7 separate regions of the Homo sapiens genome follow, and all the other regions are linked to region 1. Evidence: promoter capture Hi-C in 16 types of primary human blood cells and fetal thymus (Javierre and others, 2016). All regions are on one chromosome and are shown on one strand. The core of a region is centred on a gene start or on the middle of the fragment in contact, and the rest is flanking DNA. Distances in the headings are between cores, read along the strand shown.

Region 1 (3,455 bases), core at 697-3,196:
AGGTTGACACTTTGGGAGGCTGAGGCGGGCAGATCACGAGGTCAGGAGATCGAGACCATCCTGGCTAACACTGAAACCCCGTCTCTACTAAAAATACAAAAAATTAGCCAGGCATGGTGGTGGTCGCCTGTAGTCCCAGCTACTCAGAAGGCTGAGGCAGGAGAATGGCATGAACCCGGGAGGCAGAGCTTGCAGTCAGCCGAGATCGCGCCACTCCACTGCACTCCAGCCTGGGCGACAGTAGGAGACTCCATCTCAAAAAAAAAAAAAAAAAAAAAAAGAAGGTTGACTAAGGGGCTTTTGGACATTATCTAGGCAGACACCCCTGACCCCTTCTCTTGCTAAATAAGTAAATAAAGTTCTGCTTCACCAGACATAGCCACATATGTGTAAAGCACCTAGCCACCTGTATTGGTCTGTTTTTACGCTGCTAATAAAGACATACCCAAGACTGGGTAATTTATAAAGGAAAAAGGTTTAATTGACTCACAGTTCCACATGGCTGGGGAGGCCTCACAATCATGGCAGAGGGGGAAGGGGAAGCAAGACACGTTTTACATGGTGGCAGAAAAGGCAAGAGCGTGTGTAGGGGAACTCCCCTTTATCAAACCATCAGAACTTGAGAGACTTATTCACTATCATGAGAACAGCACGGGAGAAACCCGCCCCCATGATTCAATGACCTTCCACCAGGTTCTTCCCATGACACATGGGAATTATAAGAGCTATAATTCAAGATGAGATTTGGGTGCGGGGGAAACACAGCCAAACCATATCACCACCTCTGTCACCCCTGAGAAGTGCTCAGAAAATGTTAGCTGTCTCCCTCCTCCCTTCCTCCTCAGCCTGACCACACCTCTGCATCATTCAAGCTGGGAACACCTTGCCTTCCAGAGACCTTTCCCGTTCCTCAGTGTCCATTCTCTGCAGGGCTCTGCGTAAATACGCCCTGTGCTGACTGACCCCTTATACGCAACCTCCAGGGAGGCTGGATGGCCAGAGCTGCCTTCAGGGTTTGTTTGCCAAAGGCAGTTTATTCTTTCTTCAAATAGTTAGAATTTACTTCACATTTGAATCTAACTTGTATTTTTATACAGTCAGCATGTCCTGAGCATTCTGTCATGGAGAAGAATTTGCTCATCCATGAATAAACAATGCATAGCTAGTATCCCTCTTGAGACAGGTAGAGGCGTTTATGAAGTGTGCCTTGTTACTAGCCTGTGCCCCACAAATAAACTTTCTGCTGTGAGAAGGGGTGTGGCACCTGCTTTTTCAGAGGTTTAGTTTCACAGAACCATACAGTCCTTGGGTTTTGCCAGCAGTGCCTGCTTAGAATGCACAGAGGGGCCCTGGGCACTGTGGTCAGAGGCTGTCCTCAGACCCCATCTCCATTTCAGACCAAGCTCTTTACCACATCCCCTTGCAGGATTCCCAGATGTCCCTAGGAGGCCAGGGGTATGTATCTCAAAGTAGACTCTTATCTCCAAAAGCAAGTGAGAGCTCCCTTGAATTATTTTGGGTGAAGGAATTAGTTTTCACATGTTTCATGAGACATAATTAGGTGCCTAATACCATATTATTCTCACAGGTGTTTAATTATTGACTTTAGACACAAATTCTAATAGAACTAGAAGAAAAACTGAGACAAATTCTGAAGCTCCTTGAAATTATTCTTAGTCCCTCCTGACATTTCCTCCACCGGCGTTTTTTTTCTTTTTGCTCTATTTCCAGCAGACACGCTTTGCTAATGCTACAAGGTGTGGCTTTGGCTTTGTTGTTTTTTCCGGAGTTAGCTTTTCTGTCTGTGCATCCTGGCTCTTTGAAATCCCAACTGAATTTGGAGAAATTATTTCTTGGCATCCACCCTACTTTCCAGGGACACAATGTGATGCTGACGACATAGCCCGGTCACTCCACTTGACAACAAGTTTGTTTGTCTCATCTCACATACATATTCAGTGGTGAGTAAGAACAGAAGTGGAAAGCCTTACTTACCACAGTTTATTATATGTTTCATGCCTGTGATAATTACTTTTATAATGCCACTTGTGAAAAAATTGATCAGATTAGGATGAATCACCTTGCTGGCCAACAGTTATTGGAATGATTCTCCATGTGTGACTTCGTTGCACTATTACAAAATGTGGCAGGATAGACCTGCCCAGCCATTGTTGCCGATGTTCATTTGTAATGCTGCCTTAAGGAGATGAGGAGATGAGAGCCAATTGTTCCAGCAGCTCAGCCTGCCCTGCCAACAGTTCAGAGGAGGAGCTGCCAGTGGGACTGGAGGTGCATGGAAACCTGGAGCTCGTTTTCACAGTGGTGTCCACTGTGATGATGGGGCTGCTCATGTTCTCTTTGGGATGTTCCGTGGAGATCCGGAAGCTGTGGTCGCACATCAGGAGACCCTGGGGCATTGCTGTGGGACTGCTCTGCCAGTTTGGGCTCATGCCTTTTACAGCTTATCTCCTGGCCATTAGCTTTTCTCTGAAGCCAGTCCAAGCTATTGCTGTTCTCATCATGGGCTGCTGCCCGGGGGGCACCATCTCTAACATTTTCACCTTCTGGGTTGATGGAGATATGGATCTCAGGTAAGTAACCCCAGGGAAGCTCAGCAGTCTGTCTCTTATCCTGCCTAGGGGGAATAACTGAAACTCTTGTGTTAAACACTCTTCTAATCTTTTGGTAGAGATTCTAGTGGGAAATGTTACAAATATCACAGAGACTTGTTCAGCCATGGGTGGGCTTTCCTTTCAGTGCTCAAAAGTTACTTTGCTGATGATCATTTTCTTTATTGGCTACTGTTCTGAGCAGTGGGATGCGTTCTGAGCAGTGGAGGCAGGTCTGCACCTCACCCAGTGGCCCTTCCTAAGCTTGAGCTCATTCTTACCTACACTGGCCTCTTTAGCAACTCCTAGGACTTAAACCAAGAATCCCAAGAAGCTAACGATTGTGGTTTGGTAGCAGCCGTCGTGGTTGTGTCAGTGGCATAGTCAGAATGAGACTCCCGTAGCTCCAGTCAGTGATGCCTGAGCACCTACTTTAGGAAAGAAGCACTTTAGAGGACTGGATAAAGGAGCTTTAGGGGTGTCTGGTGGCCATATCCAGCTTTAAGTGCTGAGATGGCTTGTCGATTTGACTTCAGGAGCAATGCGAAGGCTCTCAGGACTAAAATTGTTCTTTCTTGTTGCTTTGCAGATCGTTAACATCATCACTAGATTCGCATTCCTTCCCTTTAAGCCAGTGACCTTATTCCCAATTATGGTGTAGATAAATACCTCTGGGAGACATTAAGCCTTGTCCCTTATTTACACTTTAATGAGGATGAATTAGTCACATGCTTTTCTGGATTACATGTTTTGATGGGGGAAAAAAAGAGCATTTGAGGAAAGAGTAGAGGGATAGCACTGGAAAAAGAGCTAAAAACAATGGTCTCTCGAGACTCTTTGCTTACT
Region 2 (3,761 bases), core at 59-2,558, 300 kb after region 1:
GCGCGTCTGGAGTTGTTTGTTCCTCCCGGTGGGTTCGTGGTCTCGCTGGCTTCAGGAGTGAAGCTGCAGACCTTCGCGGTGAGTGTTACAGCTCATAAAAGCAGTGTGGACCCAAGCAGTGAGCAGCAGCAAGATTTATTGCAAAGAGTGAAAGAACCAAGATTCCACAGTGTGGAAGGGGACCTGAGCGGGTTGCCACTGCTGGATCAGGCAGCCTGCTTTTATTCTCTTGTCTGGCTCCACCCACATCCTGCTGATTGGTAGAGCCGAGTGGTCTGTTTTGACAGGGCGCTGATTGGTGCGTTTACAATCCCTGAGCTAGACATAAAGGTTCTCTAAGGCCCCACCAGAGTAGCTAAATACAGAGTGTCGATTGGTGCATTCACAAACCCTGAGCTAGACACAGGGTGCTGATTGGTGTGTTTACAAACCTTGAGCTAGATACAGAGTGCTGATTGGTGTATTTACAATCCCTTAGCTAGATATAAAGGTTCTCCACATCCCCACTAGACTCAGGAGCCCAGCTGGCTTCACCCAGTGGATCCTGAATGGAGGCTGCAGGTGGAGCTCCCTGCCTGCCGCCGGCATTCCTCAGCCCTTGGGTGGTCAATGGGACTGGGTGCTGTGGAGCAGGGGGCGGCGCTCTTAGGGGAGGCTCCGCGGCACAGGAGCCCAGGGAGCGCGGGGGAGGCTCAGGCATGGCGGGCTGCAGGTCCTGAGCCCTGCCCTGCGGGAAGGCAACTAAGGCCCGGCGAGAAATTTTGAGCACAGCAGTTGCTGGCCCAGGTGCTAAACCCCTCACTGCCCCGGGCGGTGGGGCCGGCCGACTGCTGGGAGTGCGGGTCCGCAGAGCCCACGCCCACCCGGAACTCGCGCAGTCCTGGTTCCCCCCAGCGCCTCTCCCTCCACACCTCCTGGCAAGCTGAGGGAGCCGGCTCCGGCCTTGGCCAGCCCAGAAAGGGGATCCCACAGTGCAGGGCGGGCTGAAGGGCTCCTCAGGTGCCGCCAAAGTGGGAACCCAGGCAGGGGAGGCGCCGAGAGGAAGCGAGGGCTGTGAGAACTGCCAGCAAGCTGTCACCTCTCACTATCACTCATAGAAAAGCAGAGGATAACTAGTCTTCTGACTCCAATAATCAGCCTTTCCCTTTAGCACTTTTTTTTTGTTTGTTTTTAGACGGAGTCTCGCTCTGTCGCCCAGGCTGGAGTGCAGTGGCGCAATCTCGGCTGCAAGCTCCACCTTCCGGGTTCACACGGTTCTCCTGCCTCAGCCTCCCGAGTAACTGGGACTACAGGTGCCCGCCACCACGCCCAGCTAATTTTTTGTATATTTAGTAGAGATGGGGTTTCACTGTGTTAGCCAGGATGGTCTAGATCTCCTGACCTCGTGATCCACCCGCCTCGGCCTCCCAAAGTGCTGGGATTAACAGGCATGAGCCACCCCGCCCAGCCCCTTTTGAACTTTTACAGTGAGAGTTTACATCTGGGATTTTCCCCTCCAAGCACTGCATGGAACCCATTCAAATCTGGTCTTAATTTTGGAGTAGGGCTGGCCTCATGGGCATATGACTTGTGCAGTCACATAGGACCTATACTCAGAAGGGCCCCTTGCTTGGTTTAATGCCATTTTTGCCACCTTGAAATTCTTTCTTCTTTTTTTTTTTTTTTTAGAAGGAGTTTCGCTCTTGTCCCCCAGGCTGGAGTGCAGTAGCGCGATCTCGTCTCACTGCAACCTCCGCTTCCCAGGTTCAAGCAATTCTCCTGCCTCAGCCTCCTGAGTAGTTGGGATTACAGGCTCACGCCACCATGTCCGGCTAATTTTTTTTTTTTTTGTATTTTTAGTAGAGACAGGGTTTTGCCATGTTGGCCAGGCTTGTCTCGAACTCCTAACCTCAGGTGATCTGCCCGTCTCAGCCTCCTAAATTGCTGGGATTACAGGCGTGAGCCACCGCACCCAGCCGCCATCTTGAAATTCTTAGTAATTTTTTATTTTTTATTTTTGGAGACAAGAGTCTCGCTCTGTTGTCCAGACTGGAGTGCAATGGCGCCATCTCGGCTTACTGCAGCCTCTGCCTCCCAGGTTCAATAGATTCTTCTGCCTCAGCCTCCCAAGTAGCTGGGACTATAGGCACCCAACACCACACCCGGCTAAATTTTTTGTTGCCCAGGCTGGTCTTGAACTCCTGAGCTCAGGCAGTCCGCCCGCCTCGGCCTCCCAAAGTGCTGGGATTACAGGCGTGAGCCACCGCACCTGGCCCTTAGTAATTTTTGAACAAGGAGCCCTGCATTTTTATTTTGGACTGAGCCCTCAAAATTCTGTAGCCAATGTTGTTGCAGTGGTTTGCTTTAACAATATCAGGAAGAATGATACGTATGTGTAATGCATGGCTAATTTTTTAAAATGTGAGATTCGTGCTTATTCCACTTGGATATATTTAGGCACTAAGACAAAATGTCCCTGGTCAGAGTTGAAGCTACACCAGTATTTGAAGTGCTAAAATGTATTCCTTCTTTCCATTAACACCTCTCTTCTCCTTCCTGTCCATTAAGATCTTTATGCTGCTTCCTGGACTTCTCTCAGCCCCTCTCCCCGATGTCCCACCATTTGCCCACCATGAAAAATACAATACACATGTATATTGTTCATTTACACACAATGCTATCAATACATGCCCCTTTTCCATTTCCTGCATTGTGCCATTGGAAAGCAACCTCAGAAGCTATTTTAGTAATTCTTCTGAGGTCTTTTCGTCACGGCCTTCACCACCATGGAAATGGTGTGGATTTTTGAGAAAGTTCTCAGAAGAGAGCACACCTGCCTCAGGCTTCCCCCATCCTCACTAAAATGCCGTCTTTATTCTGTCTTACCAAAGATCCTCTCCCCGCCACGGATGAGGGGAAAGAAAGCAATGACAAAAAAGAGAAAGTATCACATTTTTTCATGCGCTCATTCTTCAGACTCAACCCTTTAACCTGATACATTGATTTTACCTTTGAACATTTTCATGTAAACAAGTCCTTGCACTCATTTCAAAATCCTGACTCCTTGGCCATCCATGCCTTGTCATGTGTTCTTAGCCTTATGTTGATACACACATGGGCCTTGTTGATACACACGTGAGCCATGTGACACTATTTGGCTCCTTTATTATCCAATATCTTAATATTTTGTAGTAGGAAAAAACAACACAGAAACATGGCCATGCCATTGCTTTCTTCCTTCCTCTCTTCTTTCCTTCTTGCCGTCCCTCCCTTCCTCTCTTTCTCCCTTCCATTTCAAACTTCTCCTTTGGAAGCAAGTCTGAAGATTTTGTTTCCTGTTGAAATAGTGAAAAAAAAAAAAAGAAAAAAACCTTTCAGTTTGAAAGACAAGGATATTATGGGCTGTGTGTGCAACCATGAAGCTGCTATGTCAGCAAAAGCCTTTTGTTCACCACAGGAAGCAATCTGATCATAACAACTTCCTTTCAATATTCAATACAACTATTGTCCCTGAAGCTTATCAGATAGACAAACTAACAGAAATCCACATTGGCAACAAAATATAAATGATATTTTCTGTAATCACTAAACTATACTTCTCTCAAAGTGACTCTAGTTTTTTTATTTTCTCTGTTTATTAGCATGTATTGCTCACCGATTTTGGTGAAAGATTTGAAAGTGGAGTTTGTAAACAGGTGACACTTTGATTTGTTGAATTGAAACTGCATTTGTGACTTGAAGCAACTGACAAGAAAGAGAGAGAAATGACTATTTAGATGTTT
Region 3 (3,342 bases), core at 128-2,627, 360 kb after region 1:
ATCTTTGTCTACTTCGGAGCCTTTCTGGGACTGTCCTAACATGGTCTCTGTGCCATTGTGTAGTGCAAAGAACTCTGGAGGTATCTACAGGCAGATTCAGAAACCACAGTTAGCATCAAAAATCACTGGGAAAGGGAAAAACTAATAGAAGAAAGGAGTGTGGGTGATTAGAGGATACATATCATAAGAAAATTTTAAAATGTTGCCCAAGACAGCCTTAAATATTATTTCAACTCAATCCAGTAATCTAGTTCTGATATTACCCTCCCAATATCTGGATGGGAAAATTGGGTAAGGGGATATTATCCAACTCATAAAACTTTGCACAAGGGGCTTGAGGAAACCAGGAACAATGCTTATTGAAGCTGGAACTATACATTGATGAAAAGGTATCATTTCCCTTACTGTTGTGAAAAACCGGGGACATCTTACAATAGGTTCTTTTTCATCAGCTGTGTCGAGAGAATAAAAGGATAATGTCTGTGGCCAATATTACTGAATTGTGCTTGCTAGAGCCTTAATGAGATGATTAATGATCTGAGCAGAGCATCATTTCAGATATGGGAGGAGGTGGGGGAATGGTGTGAGGGAGCTGCTTTTCCTTCAGTGAGCTAATCTGTCAAGGGATTGAATTAAGACGGCAAGTGGAGCTGAGGGAAAAACTTGCCTCATTCTCTCCCCATCTGGGCCTCCTCTCCTCTCTTCTCCTCTGCTGTCCTCTAGGTAGCATCAGACCTTGAGGCCTCTGAGTCCCAATTTCTCCTCAGTAAAATGAGGACAATAATCTCTCTCTCTCAGACTATTGTGCAATCTACCTTAACATCAAGGCCTAAAACTTTACACCACTCAGAACTCCTTCACCTCTTATCTTTTTTATTTGTTCTTTTGATTTTATTTTAAGTTGTATTTTGAAATAATTTTAAACTTATAGAAAGGTTGAAAGATAGGGAGTCCCATTTACTCTTTATTCAGATTTAACAATTTTTTTTTTTTTTTTTTTGAGACAGAGTCTCGTGCTGTTGCCCAGGCTGGAGTGCAGTGGCACTATCTCAGCTCACTGCAAGCTCTGCCTCCCAGGTTCACACCATTCTCCTGCCTCAGCCTCCCAAGTAGCTGGGACTACAGGCACCTGCCACCATGCCTGGCTAATTTTTTTTGTATTTTTAGTAGAGACGGGGTTTCACTGTGTTAGCCAGGATGGTCTTGATCTCCTGACTTCGTGATCCACTCACCTCGGCCTCCCAAAGTGCTGGGATTACAGGTGTGAGCCACCGCACCCGGCCCAGATTTAACAATTTTTGACACTTTGTTACCTTTGCTTTATTATACTCCTTCTTTCTCTCTCTACACACACACACACACACACACTCTCTCTCTCTCTTTTATGAACTATTTTAGATAGCTTGCAATCATTCCCTCTTACCTCTTAGTCCTTTATTGTGTATTTCCTAAGAAAAAAAGGTATCCTCTTACATTACCATAATACAGTTGTCAAATTTATAAAATTTAACATTGAAACAATACTTTTTCCACTCCATACTCCATAATCTAATTTGCAAATTGCCCTAATCATGTCTGTTATGGCATTTTCCCCTTCCAGTACAGAATCCAGCATAGGATCCTGCATTGCAATCGACTGTCTCATGTCTTCAGTACCCAAATCTGGAAGATTTCCTTAGCTTTTCCGTATCTTTCATGACACTGATATTTTCAAATATAAGACGGCTATGTGACAGAATGTTCATCACTTTGGGTTTGTCTGATGTTTCTTGATGATTAGGCTCAGATCGTGCCTTTCTTGCTGCATAAGACATCAGTGATTTGTCCTTCTCAGAGTACTGTGTTTCAGGCACATAGTGTCTGTCTGCCCCTCACTGGTGATGTTAATTCAATCACCTCATCAAGATGTTGTTTGGTTTCTCCACCATATAGTTACTATTTCCCTCTTTCAACCACTAAACAATCTGTGGGGAGACACTTTGGGACTGCGTACATATCCTGTTCCTCATCTAACTTTTCCCCCTGGACTTTGCATCCAAAGATAATTCTTTTCTGAATCAATCTTTATTATGATAGTTGCAGAGTTTTCTTTGCCTAACCTCATGCCATATTTTTATCTTTCTTTTTCCACAGTCATTTAGAACCTGGCACCCAAGAACATAATCACATTATTCATTTTCTCAATATTATGATACCCATAAAGTAGTTTCACAATTGCTATACCCATATCTCAATGAAAAATAAACTTACTAGAAAAAATTCAAGATTTGTTTGCAGTTCTTTTGTTCCCTAGATTGTGGGTATATTGTCAAAATCATGTGATCAAAAGTTACTTGCATTGCTTCTCTTTTTCTTTTTCTTCTGTATGGTAGTTATCCTTCTCTACTCCCCAGTGTGGTTATGCATGTGTGTATGTATGTATGTATGTTTTAGAGATTGAGTCTTGCTGTGTTGCCCTGGCTGGAGTGCAGTGGCTATTCACAAGTGTGATAATGGCCCAGTACAATCCAAACTTCTTGCTTCAAGTGATCCTCCTGCCTCAGCCTCCCGAGTAGCTGGGACTACAGGTGGGCACCACCACACCCAACTTTCCATGTGATTATTTAATAAAATACAGTTAATTTGTGACTGTGTCTATTCAGTTTTAGGGTTTTCCCCTCTCCTACATCATCTCCCCAAATCTAAAATTTATGGCCTACCATATTAGTTGGCCTGGGCTGCCATGACAGAATACCACAGACTGGAGGGCTTAAATAGCAGAATTTTATTTTTCACTTCTCAGGCGGCTGGAAGTTCACAATAAAGGTGCCAGGAGGGTTGGTTTCTGGTTAGGCCTCTTTTCCTGGCTTGCAAATGGCTGCCTTTCACTATGTCCTCACATGGCCTTTTCTCTATGCGTGAACTCTGTTGTCTTTTTCTCAGCTTATAAGGACAATAGTCCTATTGAATTAAGGCCCTTCCCTTGAGGCCTGTGTAACTGTAATTATCTCTTTACAGACCTTATCTCCAAATACAGTCAATGGAGTTGAGGGGTTCAACAAATGAATTTTGCAATGGCACAGTTCAGTCTATACCATCTACTGTCTTTCCAGCTTTCTCATTCTTTCTCTGATGAAGCTCTTGGAACTTCTTTTGAAACTCATTAAGACTCCTGATTCCTTTTGGTTTATTTCCTTCCTTGTTTAACTATTTGCATATTCATTCTTTCACAATTCATCTGATCATTCATTAATTTACTTATCCAAATATTATTTATTAAACACCTATTAAGGATAATGCACTTTGCTAGACATAGGAGATACAGTGGTGAGGAGGAAAACTGAAAAAGGATATGTTCCTAGG
Region 4 (3,463 bases), core at 237-2,736, 330 kb after region 1:
CTTAGGTCAAATTAAAATCTAGGTAACGTGAATACAAACCTGGGAACCTCCTCACTCTCATCCCTCTAGTCTAAATTGAATTTTAGCACTCTGTATTTGCTTGTGTTTCGTTTTCTTTTTCTTATTTTATTTTTTAATTGAGATGGGGTCTCACTCTGTCACCCAGGCTGGAGTCAGTGGCATGATCTTGGCTCACTGCAGCCTCTGCCTCCAGGGCTCCAGCCACCCTCCCACCTCAGCCTCCCAAGTAGTTGGGACAACAGGAGGGCACCACCACTCCTGGCTAATTTTTTGTATTTTTGGTGGAGACGGGGTTTCGCCATGTTGCCCAGGCTGGTCTCGAACTCGAGCTCAAGCGATCTGCCCGTGTCAGCCTCCCAAAGTGCTGGGTTTACAGGCATGAGCCATCATGCCTGGACTGCTTGTGTTTCTTTATGTCAATGATAATTATTCAGCTTGCTAACGCCTGAAGAATAGAGACTATAAATTATTTTTGCATACTCCACAACACAAACCTGAGTGTTTCATATATGGCAGGTACCAGATATTAGGTTGGTGCAAAAGTCATTGCGGGCTTTTTTTTTTTTTTGCACCAACCTAATTTAAATATTTGTTGAGTGATAGGCTAATGTAGGGTTAATTATCTAATGGATAGGAAACTAAAACAACAGCAGCAGAAGCAAGAACAACAACAACAACTTAAAAAAAACTAATTCAGTAATAGAAAGGGGAGAGAGAGTGTAAATGGCAGTGTTACATGACCAGAAACATGTTTAGGAAGATGAATATGTGCAAAGCTGCCAGATTTAACAAACAAATATACGGGAAACCCTGTATCTTACCTGGCAACCCTAGTATGGTGTTAATGTAGACTCTTTAGAAGACTTGAGAAGGAAGACAATGGAGATAACTAGGAGACTACTGAAATTATTGTGGGAGAAGAAACTTTCTGACAAATACATGTGCAAGAACTGAATTGAGGGCACACTGTGGAGGTAGAATGTACAGGACTTGCTGACTGGATGTGGAAGGTAAGGTAGAAGTGAAATCAAGTGATTACTTCAAGATTTTTAATTTAGATTACTAAGTAGGTGATTGCATAAAAATGATATCCAGAAAGCTAGGAGGAGAGTTAGAGAGTAAAGGGATTATCTTGGTCAATTTTGTGTTACCATAACAGAATATCTGACACTAGGTAATTTATAGAGAAAAAGGTTTATTTTTCTTATGATTCTGATGGCTGTAAAGTTCAAGATTGGGCATCTGCATGATGAGAGCCTCAGTCTCCTTCTACTTCATGGTGGAAGGTGAAGGGGAGCTTGTACGTGCAACGATCACATTGCAAAAGAGGAAGCAAGAGAAAGGGTGGGAAAAGCGGCAGGCTCTTTTTAACAACCAGCTCTCTTGGGAACTAATGGAATGGGAACTCACTCACCCTTGAAGGAGGATATTAATCTGTTCATGTAGGATCCACTCCCATGACCCAAACACCTCCCATTAGGCCCCACCTCCAACATTGGTGATCAGATTCCAACATGAGGTTTGGAGGGGACAAACATCTAAGCCAAGCGTAGATAGAGAAAGAAAATGAGTTCAATGTAAACATTTTTGAATTTGCCAGATGAAATAACCATCGGATATTTAGAGATATAGATTTAGAGCCTTTGAGAGATTTGGTAAATACAGACATATGATTGCCTTTAAAGGACTCTGGAAAGTAGGGGTAGATTTTGCTGGAATGCCAGGTGGTTGATCCAGGGTGAAGACATGTATCTCCTGAAGCTGAATTTGGATCAAGAAACGGAAGAGCCAAATGTATATAAATGTTCCCTTGAACAGTGGTGTATATATTAGTGTAATTTCACAATGGTGATGTAAATCCGAGTATAACAGAGAAGTGATGAAGCAAGAAAATTTCCCCTTAACTCTTGCAGAACTTTACCACAGTGGAAACTTACCAGAATCTCTGATGGTTTTGCCTTTGGTATGGGGAATAAAGGGCAAGAGATAAATTTGAATAGGCAGTGCTGTTGCTCCTGCTTAAAGCACTCCTGGAACTCTTAGCCAGGTATTTGTAGCCAGATGTATTCTTGGATAGCTCTATTAAAGACTTATAGTAGGAGGATATGTGTATGGCAGGGATTGGGGATGGGGGTCAGTGTGTTCCACAAATCCATAACCCTCCTGTAATGCTGCTGTGCTGCTCAATAAATATTTATTGAAAAAAAGTGAATGAAAGAGTGAATATTGAATAAATAGCTAGAGATATACCTATTAATAAACATAAAGGTAATAATAATAAAGGTATTAATAATATCAATATAAGTGTAGTAGAATGAATGATATGAAAAATTAGAAATTAATTATTTCCCATGAGTCTTTAGATGTCTAAGGAACTTATGTTGCAAAAGGACACAAACTGGAGAACAGTCCAAAAAAATGTATTTCTAGCCCTGTCACATGCTTTTTCCTGCATATAGCAACAAATTCTGTGTGTGGTAGTGCTGGCATTTTTCCTCCCATGAGGATGCATAGAATGTCAGCACCTGTTTACAGTTGCTGTAACAACTGTAAGTCACAATGGCTTTTCCATGTGAAGAGGGAGGAACAAAGTGGGGAGAGTTGGATAAAAATATGTATGAACAGGTGCATGAATCAAATAAGTCCCCAGAGGTAGAAAAAGAGGATCTATGTGTAGCTTCTCACACAGATCACTCCTCCTATCTGTAGTCAGCAAATGGATTTTGATAACCTGAGAACAAAATTAGAATGGAAGGATTTAGGTGGGGAACAAAAAGAACCAGAACCAACGAAATAAGAGCACAGCCTCTACCAAGAATACAACAAAACAGGAGAATTTTTTTTTTTAAGTTTAAATGTTTGGAGCTCCATCTTCTGGTTATGAAGCGGGATAGAATTGAAATGCACTATTAATCATAAAAGCTAAAATGTATCAATAGGAACTGTGTTAAACGTATCATCTCATTTAATTTATCTGCCCTGCCAAATAAACTACCAACTCTTGAACATGAAAATTAAGGTAGTTCATATTCTAGCTCCAACCTCGTTTCATCATTCATTTAACAAGCTTATACTAGAGCCTAATAGGCAAACAGTATTATGTTTTACATGTCTGGGCTTTCTGGGAAGTACAAACCCATCATTCTTGACACCTACTTTCAAGGAGTGACTCTTTAATTGCCATCAAAACACATAATGAGAAAAATGCCACAAGACAGCCAAAAAACTGAGTTTCCAAAGTGTGATAGAGGGATAAGTCAGACTCTGAACACACACCCCACTGGGGAACCTGAAAATCTAGATCATGGGAAAAGGAGTTAACCTTACCTAGAGCTGAAATGGATTTAGGGACCCAGGTGAAATATAAAAGTAGAAGAAGCAGTGTGAAGAGCCCTGTAGGCACTCCCAGTCCCCAGCTCAACCCAGGGAAGCCATTCCTGGC
Region 5 (3,421 bases), core at 106-2,605, 380 kb after region 1:
GTCCAACAACCTGCCCAATACTCTTGTTCTTAGTGTGCATACAGATAATGTCTGGGCACTGGTACTGGGGAGGAACTCCAGACTTGCAAGGTAGCCCATTCCACCTTTGGACAACTTAGATATTCTTCATTAGATTCTGCTGAAGCCTTCTGAAGCTTCCATTTATTGATCACAATTCTTTTTGTTCTGTTTTGTTTTGTTTTTTTGAGACAAAAAACTTGCTTTGTCACCCAGGCTGGAGTGCAGTGGTGCGATCATAGGGCTCAAGGCTCAAGGGGACAACCACCTCAGCTTCCCAAGTAGCTAGAATTGATCACAATTCTAATGGCAACATGTGGAAACCTTCTATGCCATTTCCCACATAACAAGCCTTCATAACAAGCCACATAACAAGCCTTCATATATCTGAAGGCAGCTTCTCTGCCCCTCTGAGTCTTTGCTTTCCCAGATTTAACATTCCCACTTTCTTCATTTGTATTTCTTATGAATCCCCTGACCAGCCTGGTCAATTGGGAATTCTAATCCTACCTCTACTACACAGTTGCTATGAGTTGAGTTCTGTTGCTTTGTTATTTTCCTTCTTTTTCTTTTCTTTTTTTTTGAGATGGAGTCTCACTCTGTCACCCAGGCTGGAGTGCAGTGGCATGATCTTGGCTCACTGCAACCTCTGCCTCCTGGGTTCAAGCAATTCTCCTGCCTCAGCCTCCAGAGGAGCTGGGACTACAGGTGCATGCCACCACGCCTGGCTAATTTTTGTATTTTTAGTAGAGATGGGGTATCACCATGTTGACCAGGCTGATCCCAAACTCCTGACCTCAAGTGATCCACCCGCCTGGGCCTTCCAAAGTGCTGGGATTACAGGTGTGAGCCACCATGCCCAACTGCTTTGTTATTTTCACACTTATATCATCAGGACATTTTGAAAAAACTATTCTGTTTCACCTTTTAGAAATGACTATTTTTCTATTTAATAAGCTCTTCAAAATCTGGTTCATATTATAAAATAATTCAAAATGCATAAAAGTATGCCTATACCCCTATTGTCAAATAAAAAACCCAGACTTAGTAAGGAGAGCCATTATTTGAAAGGATTATTGCGAAGTGGTCAAAGGGACTATTGCAATAGGGGGAGGGGGACTCTTGCAATAGGGAGAATGTTTTGACCATAATATATGCAAGCATCTCAAGAGGTAGGCAAAAAAAGGATTTTCTTTTACAGAGAGAAGTAGCAAGGCTAGCAACAACCAGGTATGGGGAAGCAGGATGAAAGCGTAGCAATATCAGATAGTAGGTTAGAGAATGTTTTACCTTGGAGCCAGCCTATTCTCAGGAGGGTTTAAGGAGGAGTTGTAGGCTGACCAAAATTCAGGGACCTGGGAAAAGGAGAGAAGCTAAAGCAAAGTTTCTGGTTAGCAAGCATTTTGTTCTGGCCGACCGGCGGGGCAAGCAGTTCAGCTAATCATTTATGAGGCAAAGAATGGGAATTTAGAATGTCTGTATCTGGCCTCGTTGCAAGGTAAGCAAGGGGCACATCTATGAGTCTTCTCTAATTTATATGGGGACTCTTGGTTTTTTTCAGTAAGCCAGTTTCTGGAACACAAAAGGGTTGGTATTGGGGACTTCTTTAAACAATGGTAGGCTGGGTGCCGTGGCTCACGCCTGCCATTCCCGCACTTTGGGAGGCCGAGGTGCGCGGATCACGAGGTCAAGAGATCGAGACCATCCTGGCCAACGTGGTGAAACCCTGTCTCTATTAAAAATACAAAAATTAGCTGGGCATGGTGGCACATGCCTGTAATCCCAGCTACTCAGGAGGCTGAGGCAGGAGAATCGCTTGAACCCGGGAGGCGGAGGTTGCAGTGAGCCAAGATTGCGCCACTCCACTCCAGCCTGGTGACAGAGCGAAACTCCGTCTCAAAAACAAACAAACAAACAAACAAAAATGCTGTTTTCCAGGATAACAGGGCTCAGGTAAATACAACATTGTCTCTATACATCACCTGATTTAAGAAATGTCAAGATTGCTTTGGCCATTTTTGCTTCAAAAACATTTTTAAAAGAAATATACACTGTAGACACAGTGAAACCCCTCAACCTATTTTATTTCCTTATCTTTCTCTGCAAAGTCAACCACTTTTAACTGGTTGCTGTGAATCTCTTGTTTTTGGTGAAAACTGGACAATTTAAGAATTCAATTTGATTATGCGACACTTGGCACAAATGACTCCATTCTGATTTGGTTTGGTCTGTTGGGGCCTACTGTGAGGCCCGCTTCAATACAGTGGCCTTCTATAATTTTTGGTTAACAATTTGAATGTAGCCATCATCTCAGTCAACTTAAGCTGAATCACGCCAGGGTCATAAAACTCCCAAATTTCAGAGTTTGCTGCAACTGACATATTTTCTTGTTCACATTCACATGGGTTGACAGGCTCTGTTCCACATCATCTTCACTCCAGGGACTGCAGCTGAAGATGCAGCACATATCTTGGACATGGTGGTCTTGTGACAGAAAAGAGAGACAACAGACCCACAGGAGGGCTTTTAAAGCTTCTGTTTCAATATCACATTATAGTCACATTTTGTTGCTGAAGCAAGTGACCTTGGCTGAGGGCATATAATCTCCCGCAGGTTAGCCTGGGAGGGAGGGGCAGCAAATATTTTCACAGGGGTACAATCAACCACACTAGGTGTCCCAAACCCTCTTTTGTTCTGTGTGCTTTTCATGCTGTGCTTAAGAAATAATTCCCTAACCAAATGCCATAAAAAAGATTCTCCTACATGTTCTGTGAAAGACTTGATTTTTACATTTGTATTTTTGACCTATCTGGAATCTATATTTGGGTATGGTATGAGATAGAGATCTAATTTTATTATTTTTTTAGTTAATCAATTACACTGCCAAGACAAGCTCGGTTGTGGAGACCCTAACCCAGTGGCACTAGAGAAATTAAAGACACACACACAGAAATATAGCATGTGGCCTACAACGGGCCATATCATTTGAGGTTGAGGTGTCACTATACTGCTATGTTTCCAGATAATAGGAACTCTTGCTGTACTTCCTACCATTTCTACCATCTGACCATTTTGTTCAGACCAGCTGAACATAGTGTGGCCGTGGCATGCAGACTGAGAGGTGCTATTTAAGCTAAATGTCCCCTTAGGGGACCAATCAATAATGATTCCATAGGAATCGTTGCACAGCACCTCTGCCTGTTCTGCAATTCAATCTTCCCAAACAAGTACATTCATTATTTCTAACTGGGTCCAATCCTGTTTACAAATAAGTTTTTGAGGGCGGTATGCCTCAATTATAGGAGTAGATTTATTATGGTAAATACTGAGACCAGAAAGCATGTGTAACTGTCATAAAGTGATTACATCCAGGCATTATTGCCAGCCAAGATTGATAAATATG
Region 6 (3,329 bases), core at 12-2,511, 280 kb after region 1:
AAATGTGGAAAATTTCTATATTGAAAACTATAAAACATTGGTGAATGAAATGAGAGAAAACTTAATAAGTGGAGAGACATATCACGTTTATGGATTCAAAGACTTTTTAATGGGTAAATTTATCTCACATTTATCTATAGAATCTGTGCAATTTCAATCAAGATATAAGCAGCTTTTTGAGTAGAAATTGATAGGCATATTCTAAACTTTGTTTGGAAATGCAAAGGACCTCGTATAAGCAAAATGATTTTAAAACAGAAAAACAAGAAAGGCCTCCCACTGTCTGATTTCAGTACTTATTCAGCTGCAGTATTCAAGACAGTGTAGTATTGGGAGTAAGGATAGCTATATAGATAAAGATAGTACAGAAAGATGCCCACATATATTCAATTAAATGATCCCAACAAAGATGAGAGAGTAATTTCATGAGGTAAAACATTGTTAGTAAAAGGTGCTGGAACATCCATATGCAGAAAACTGAAGCTAAAACCTATCTCCACCATATAAAGAAATTAACTTGAAATTGTACATAGATCAAAATGTGAAACCTAAAGCGATATAAATTGCTAGGGGAAATTCTTTGTGACCTTTGATAGTAAAGCTTTCTTAGGTAAGACATAAAAAGCATCAACTATTAAAAAATTGGAAAATTAGAGTTTATAAAAATTAAGACCTTGTGCTCTTCAAAAGATTCCTGCAAAAGTGAAAAAATAAATAAAACAAGCCACAGATTGGGACAAAATATTTGTGAAGGATATATCTGATTAAGAAGTTATATCCAGAATATATGAAGAACTTTCAAAACTAAAGAAAACAATTCATTTTTTTAATTGGGCAAAAGATTTAAACAAATATTTTACTAAAGAAGATATCCAGATAGCAAATAAACACATGATATTCACCGAAATTATTAATTAGGAAAATGCAAATTAAGATGAATATCATTATATACCTACTAGAATGGCTATATTTTAAAAGTTTGACACTGCCAATTACTGGTAAAGATGCAAATCAGCGGGAACTTTCAAATGTTGCTGGTGGGAATGCAATATGGCACAGCCATTTGGCATTTTCTTATAAACTCAGACCCAGGTTCATGAGCATGAGACCTGTGCAATTGAACAGGGCCTCATGCTCAAAAGAGTCCCATATTCGGCTTAATATTCCACTGTTAGTATCTTGAAATTCTAATAATTTTGTCTCGAAACCTGTATTTTATAAGTAAGGCCTGTTGGAACACTGGACTATGAAATTCGTCTGCCAGTACTTTCTGCCCTGTTTGCATATAGTGTTGGAGATACCCCATGAACACAGAATTCCAAGGGACCCAGTGGTGCCTACAAGTTTAATGAGACTCACAGCTAGCACAAGGTAAACATGTTACAGCTAAGTCTGAGTAAACATAAATACTGATAACCTCTTGAGGCTATGTTTTTTATTTGAACTAGAGTTGTTTCTAATGCAAAAAGAAGACAATGGCATTCTAAGAAACACAAATGAGCAAGGAATCCTATGATATCCTTTCTTATTCCCATTGTTTCCTAGTATTACACAGCTGGTTTTGCTGAAAGTAATGATGCCATAAGTCAAAGGTAGAGAGTGTTGGTAGAATGTGTTGGTAGACTTGAAATAAAAAATTGAGTAAATTTTGTGTAGTGTTTCCACTGTTCTGGTAAGAACAAAATATATGTGCATGTATGAACTACAAAATAAGAATTGTGTGATTTTGGTGATCCTACATAGGAGTTAAATGTACATATATACATTTAAAGCTAGCATTATGCAATATAAAGACGAATGACAAAATTCAGCCTAATAATTTAAAATTTTTCCTTCCTTAGAAAAAATTTTAACTAGCAAATAAAAAATAAAAAACCATGACAAACTGAAAAAAAGACCAAGGAAGAAAGGAAAAAGCTTTATATTTTATATTTTTAATGACACCTTTTTTCTGCTTTTTGAACAAGGGGCTCGTTACATAATGTAGCTGACCCCAAATAAATTACACATACATTTACCATAGACAAGTAAATTCAATTATTGGGCTTCAGTGTAAGGTTGTCAGGAGATAGCCAACCGTATCTTTGGCAGCCCACCAGTTTTTAGTATGAGGTCTTTTCTCTCCTTGATTTCTCTAGGAAGGAAAGCTCCATTCATTCCTTTTCAGGAATGAATTAGTTTGCTTCTTGACTTTCCCAGCTACAGGTACTTAACTTTTAACTTCCTCTGTTCAGCTAAGAAGTCAATTGTTACTTGATCATATGCTTTCCGGTTTTTAACCTATTTTTGACAGTTCTCACTGTTGTTATTTTATCTCTAGTTTTCCTTTTATTTAAGGTTCTAAATTTTTAAAAGTTTATTTCCTGCCATCATTTTTGTGATGTTTGGAAAGGAGAATTGATAAGCTCATATAGGTGTTCTATTCACTATCTTTTACTGGAGATACACACACACACACACACACACACACACACGTATATATATATCCAGTAAATATATATATACATGTATCTATCCAGTAATATATATATATATATTTAAATTTTGGATATCATTGCAAAGATTTTTTTAAATTAATTTTATTTTTTACAGATTCCAATCACTAAAAAAAAAACCCTAAGTATTTTATTAAGTATCTTTTATATAAAACAATACAACTTTAAAAAATAAACAGGACAGGCCCACAGAGATAATAGAACCTGAAAGAAGGATCCATGTCTATAGGAAGAGTAGAGATTATGGCATCTTCTCAGCAGGGAATTCTGCACACCCCACCTCCCTTAGCTGGTTAAAAACGCTGTCTGGTAGCTGGTTATAACTGGAACTGAGTCTGTGGTAGAGATATAAAGTTAGGAGTTATTAACAACTGAAACTAATCAGATTCAATTCCACCCTGGCATCTGCTTATCTCAAGACTCAAACTGGCCATGGGCGACTAAAGACCCTCCTCCAACCTCTTGGTGACTCCTCTGCCCATCCCCCTTGTTTCGTTAACTCCTATTTAGTTTTTCAGACTAAATGTCACCTACTCCAGGAAGTCTTTCCTGAAACCATTCTACTAAGCTAATTTAGGTGTTCTTCCTTACTTCAAGTTATTATTTTCATAATAACTTCAGTTCTCAGGTTATAGGTATATTCTTTATCACTGTATTTACCAAATTATAATTATTTGTAAATATTTCAGGGATCAGCAAACTTTTTCTGTGAAGTTTACAGCAAGTAAATATTTTAGAACTTGTAGGCCAAGAGGGAAAATCAAGGATATTCTGTAGGTACTTATATAACAAAAGAGAAAACAATTTCCCATGATTTTTTTTTGGCAAAAGTAA
Region 7 (3,682 bases), core at 771-3,270, 340 kb after region 1:
CTTACCCAAATCCCCTTGAGGCTTACCACTTAGCACAGCTGCCTTAACTGTATCTGTGTGTCTTTCCCTGACAGCTTTCTCCTCTGCTGGAGAAGAGGAATTTCTGCTCCTCAGTCTGGGAGCAGTTCTGACCTTGATTGTTGTGGTTGGTTTTTAATTCTCTGCTCCTCTTGACCTTTGAGTCGACACTGGCTCCTGGAGTTTCCAGCTAGATTAGGCTCCAGTAGTGGTAATTTACTTAATAATACACACTTTGTGTGCTGCCTTCCCTTCCTTGACTCCCTTCCTCCCCTTCCTATCAGTGATTCCTGTGGCCCCCTTTCAAATAAACTATTTGTAGTTGGATCTTTGAGTCATGGTCTTCTTCTGGGGGAACACAAACTAAGTGCTATCTTTTAGTCAGCACTTACTCTGTGCCAGGCAGCAGCTAAGAGTCTGTTTTTATGCAGTGTGTAATCACATTATCTCCATTTTGTAAATGAAGAAACCACAGTTGAAGTTAAATAAGCTACTTGGGGATGTTCATCAAGTAAGTGACAAAAATACAATTTGAACCAAGACCCTCTGACTTTCAAAACCCATATTTTTGACCATTAGATTCAGAAACAACTGCCTTTCTAGCATATCCCTCACTCATTTTCTCATGAAAATTCTTCTCCTTAATGGTCCTATTCAGAGGACAGTTCCTCAATAAAAGATTCCTTGGTATTATGTTCAGAATTAATTTTTCCCTTCCTGGATTTTCATATGACCGACTGCCTTTCTTTTGGAATGTAATACGCTGTCTTTTGTTTATAGGTGTGAATATCTCATTTTCTGTGCTGTATAGAATAGTTCTTGGGTGCCTAACACATACCAGGTGCTTTAAAAATGTTTTCTTTAAGGAATTATTATGAATTCCTTTAGGGCAAGGAGTATGTCTCTATATTGCCTAGCTCATGTTTTACATTAAGGAGTTCAATGAGAGCTCATTGGATTGAAGTTCAGGAACAAGATCATCTGCTAGAGGACAGAGCATATACACTTTAGAAAGGACAGAATTGGGGAAGTAATTTATAGATATTGACGCAATAAGTAGGCTAGTTCATGACCTAAAGAAATTTGAAAATGAGTACAATTTAAATTGGCCTATAGGTTTGTGAATCCAGCTAAAGGCTAATTCAGTGCCTTCATAGGATATCTTTCTTTATCTCTTCTGTTCCTAGTCTAGTACTAGGCATTATTGTATAATGGAAAGACACCTATAAAAGAAAAGAAATATCTGAGGCTCTCATGTCTTCGCAGGAGTTCACATTTAAGAGAATAAATGAAAAAAGGAAACTTTTTTTTTTAAAAACAGGGTCTCACTCTGTTGCCCAGGCTGAAGTGTGGTGGTGTGATCATAGCTCATTACAGCCTTGAACTAGGCTCAAACACCACCTCAGCCTCCTGATAAGCTGGGATTACAGATGCATGCCACCACAAATTTTTAGTAGAGATGAGGTCTCTCTATGTTGCCCAGGTTGGTCTTGAGCTCCTGGGCTCAAGCAATCCTCCTGCCTTGGCCTCCCAAAATGTTGAGATTATAGGTGTGAGCCACCTTGCCTGGCCCATTTTTAAAAAATAATTTAAACTTTTATTTTAGATTCAGGGGGTACATGGGCAGGTTATATGGGCATATTGCATGATGCTGAAAGGAAACTTAAAAATAAATTATCAAAGAGTAGAAAATTTGTTTGAAAAAATGTGTATTAAATTGCTGAAGCACTATAGAGGAATAATAAGAATGTGCTGTTGGCTAGCCAGGGAAAAGTTCCAGAAACAGGTGAAGGTTGAACCAAAACAATTATGTGATGGTTGCTATTTGGTAGAAAGCAGTGAGCAGAGCACTTTGACTAGTATGAAAAAATAGTGCAGGGTCTAGAATTAGTGTGTTGTATTTATGGAGGATGCAGAGTGGATGGGCTTTGCTGGTGGAAAGACTTTGCTGGATGTGCTTAATACCCCCAAAAGAGGGACTGTAGGCAAACTGGGAGGCAGGTGAAATTGGACTTGAGAGTTCTAGCACATGAATCTTGTAGCACTTCTTTTCCTCTTCTGGCTCTTCCTTTCCATTCCTCACCCCAGCCAGTCATCATGTGTCTTATTGCCAGCTCTTAGGCATATGCTCACTCAGGTGTAGATAATGATGATTTAGAATTTGAAACAGTAAATCAATTGGAGGATGGGGTGGAAAGTGGAGGGCAGGAAAAAGTTTTGCTAGTTAAGATACACATATTAGCAAAGGAACAGGTGTGAATGTTTATAGACAACTTGATGAAAAGGCAGTGGTTTCGTTTGGCTAGAGCAGTGAGCTTCCTAATGTTTTTGAGTAAGAACACCCCTTGTTAATAAGAAAAAATTGGTAGGTTCCTACATAATAGTAAACTGTACTGCTACTATCCTTTGGAAAAATACATGTTGGTAAGATTACTATAAATTAATACATTTTAAAGTAATAGTATAATATGGTAGTTAATTTAGTTTACAGACAATAATCGGAAGGATGTGGATTCACAGACCCCTTTACGTTACTTTACTACTTCCCAGATCTTTGGCCCACAGGTTGGATTTCACTGGGCTAGCATAGGATTTCTGTAGAGAGGTTCATTCTGTGAGACTCATTTATTCATTCACTCAAGAAATATTTATTGAATTAAGTGCAGTATGCTCTTTTAGGCTCTGGGAAAATAGTTGTAAAAGAAACTAAGACCCTCCCTCAGGGTGCTTATATTTTAGTGAGAAGAGACAGACAATAAAAAATATTACACAAATAACTATGATATTTCTAATGATGTTAAGTGTTACAGATAATAGGGATTATCTGGGTAGGCTGGGGGGAATGTTACTTTGATAGATTGGAGAGAGAACTCTCTACTATGGTGACATTTGTATAGACATTTGAATGAATTAGGGAGGGCCCTGTAGGTCTCAGGAAGAAGAGTGGAATGCGTACAAAGCCCAAGAGGTGGGAGCATGTTTGCTGTCCTTGGGTAAGAGCAAAAAGACTGGTGTGGCTAGAGTAGGATTAGGGAGATGAATAATTAATTGTGGTAGATGATGGGGTCTGGTAGTGCATAGCCAGCCATATTATATAGGATCTTGCAGGCCATTATAAGCACTTTGAATTTTACCCCAAATGAGATTTTTTAAAAAGCCATTGGAGGATTTAAATCAGAACAGTGACATAATCTGAAATGTTTTAAAATAATTACCATGGCTGTTTGTGAAATAGATTATTAGGTAAGCGTTGAAGCAAGGGACCAACTGTAGAAATCCAGGCTACAGATTAATTCTCAAATGCTTCTTATTGGTTGAATAAGATGAGGATGGAGAACTGACCCTTGGAATTGCAATGGAGAGGTTACTAAGGAGTGTGCACTCAATTTGTTAGGTAATAATGAGCCTTTGAAAGTTTTATAGGAAAGTGATACCATCAGTGTGGTACTTTATGAAAATTTATCAGTTGGTACCCACAGATGGGAAGAATTCGATTAGATGAAAAAGTCTGAGGATAGAGAGATATTTTAGGTACCCATTTCAACAATCTAATTGGAAAAGTATGGGAGCTGGAAGTAAAGTAGCAAAGGTGAGAATGGAACTGACATTTCAGAGTCTGAACTGGAAGAACTAGGCAACTGAAGGAATATAGAGCCAGAGACAA

The links. Contacts are between HindIII fragments. The CHiCAGO score rates a contact against its expected background, and 5 or more counts as called.
Region 2: a fragment that was not itself captured here is called in contact with the fragment with the promoter of SLC10A6 in region 1 in 1 of 17 cell types (megakaryocytes); the score reaches 6.5 in megakaryocytes.
Region 3: a fragment that was not itself captured here is called in contact with the fragment with the promoter of SLC10A6 in region 1 in 3 of 17 cell types (M0 macrophages, M1 macrophages and M2 macrophages); the score reaches 6.4 in M0 macrophages.
Region 4: a contact is called between a fragment that was not itself captured here and the fragment with the promoter of SLC10A6 in region 1, in 6 of 17 cell types (megakaryocytes, M0 macrophages, M1 macrophages and 3 more). The highest score is 10.3, in megakaryocytes.
Region 5: a fragment that was not itself captured here is called in contact with the fragment with the promoter of SLC10A6 in region 1 in 2 of 17 cell types (M0 macrophages and megakaryocytes); the score reaches 5.6 in M0 macrophages.
Region 6: a contact is called between a fragment that was not itself captured here and the fragment with the promoter of SLC10A6 in region 1, in 1 of 17 cell types (megakaryocytes). The highest score is 6.9, in megakaryocytes.
Region 7: a contact is called between a fragment that was not itself captured here and the fragment with the promoter of SLC10A6 in region 1, in 12 of 17 cell types (megakaryocytes, M2 macrophages, M1 macrophages and 9 more). The highest score is 12.2, in megakaryocytes.

Annotation. Positions count from the first base shown.
Region 1 is chr4:86,847,875-86,851,329 of GRCh38, reverse strand. It overlaps SLC10A6 (solute carrier family 10 member 6), which reads left to right and starts at 1,946. Exons shown (of 6, transcript NM_197965.3): 1 at 1,946-2,591. The coding sequence starts at 2,215. The HindIII fragment of the contact is 4,581 bases long and covers 1-2,875 here.
Region 2 is chr4:86,544,462-86,548,222 of GRCh38, reverse strand. It overlaps a transcript of MAPK10 not described here. Among named protein-coding and RNA genes, the nearest start is that of MIR4452, 3.8 kb to the right of the region's middle. RefSeq lists an enhancer at 357-857. The HindIII fragment of the contact is 4,379 bases long and covers 1-3,497 here.
Region 3 is chr4:86,485,389-86,488,730 of GRCh38, reverse strand. It overlaps a transcript of MAPK10 not described here. Among named protein-coding and RNA genes, the nearest start is that of MIR4452, 55 kb to the left of the region's middle. The HindIII fragment of the contact is 5,937 bases long and covers 1-3,342 here.
Region 4 is chr4:86,521,972-86,525,434 of GRCh38, reverse strand. It overlaps a transcript of MAPK10 not described here. Among named protein-coding and RNA genes, the nearest start is that of MIR4452, 19 kb to the left of the region's middle. The HindIII fragment of the contact is 3,208 bases long and covers 1-3,090 here.
Region 5 is chr4:86,466,034-86,469,454 of GRCh38, reverse strand. It overlaps a transcript of MAPK10 not described here. Among named protein-coding and RNA genes, the nearest start is that of MIR4452, 75 kb to the left of the region's middle. The HindIII fragment of the contact is 2,395 bases long and covers 158-2,552 here.
Region 6 is chr4:86,570,473-86,573,801 of GRCh38, reverse strand. It overlaps a transcript of MAPK10 not described here. Among named protein-coding and RNA genes, the nearest start is that of PTPN13, 22 kb to the left of the region's middle. The HindIII fragment of the contact is 1,316 bases long and covers 604-1,919 here.
Region 7 is chr4:86,503,237-86,506,918 of GRCh38, reverse strand. It overlaps a transcript of MAPK10 not described here. Among named protein-coding and RNA genes, the nearest start is that of MIR4452, 37 kb to the left of the region's middle. The HindIII fragment of the contact is 5,090 bases long and covers 1-3,682 here.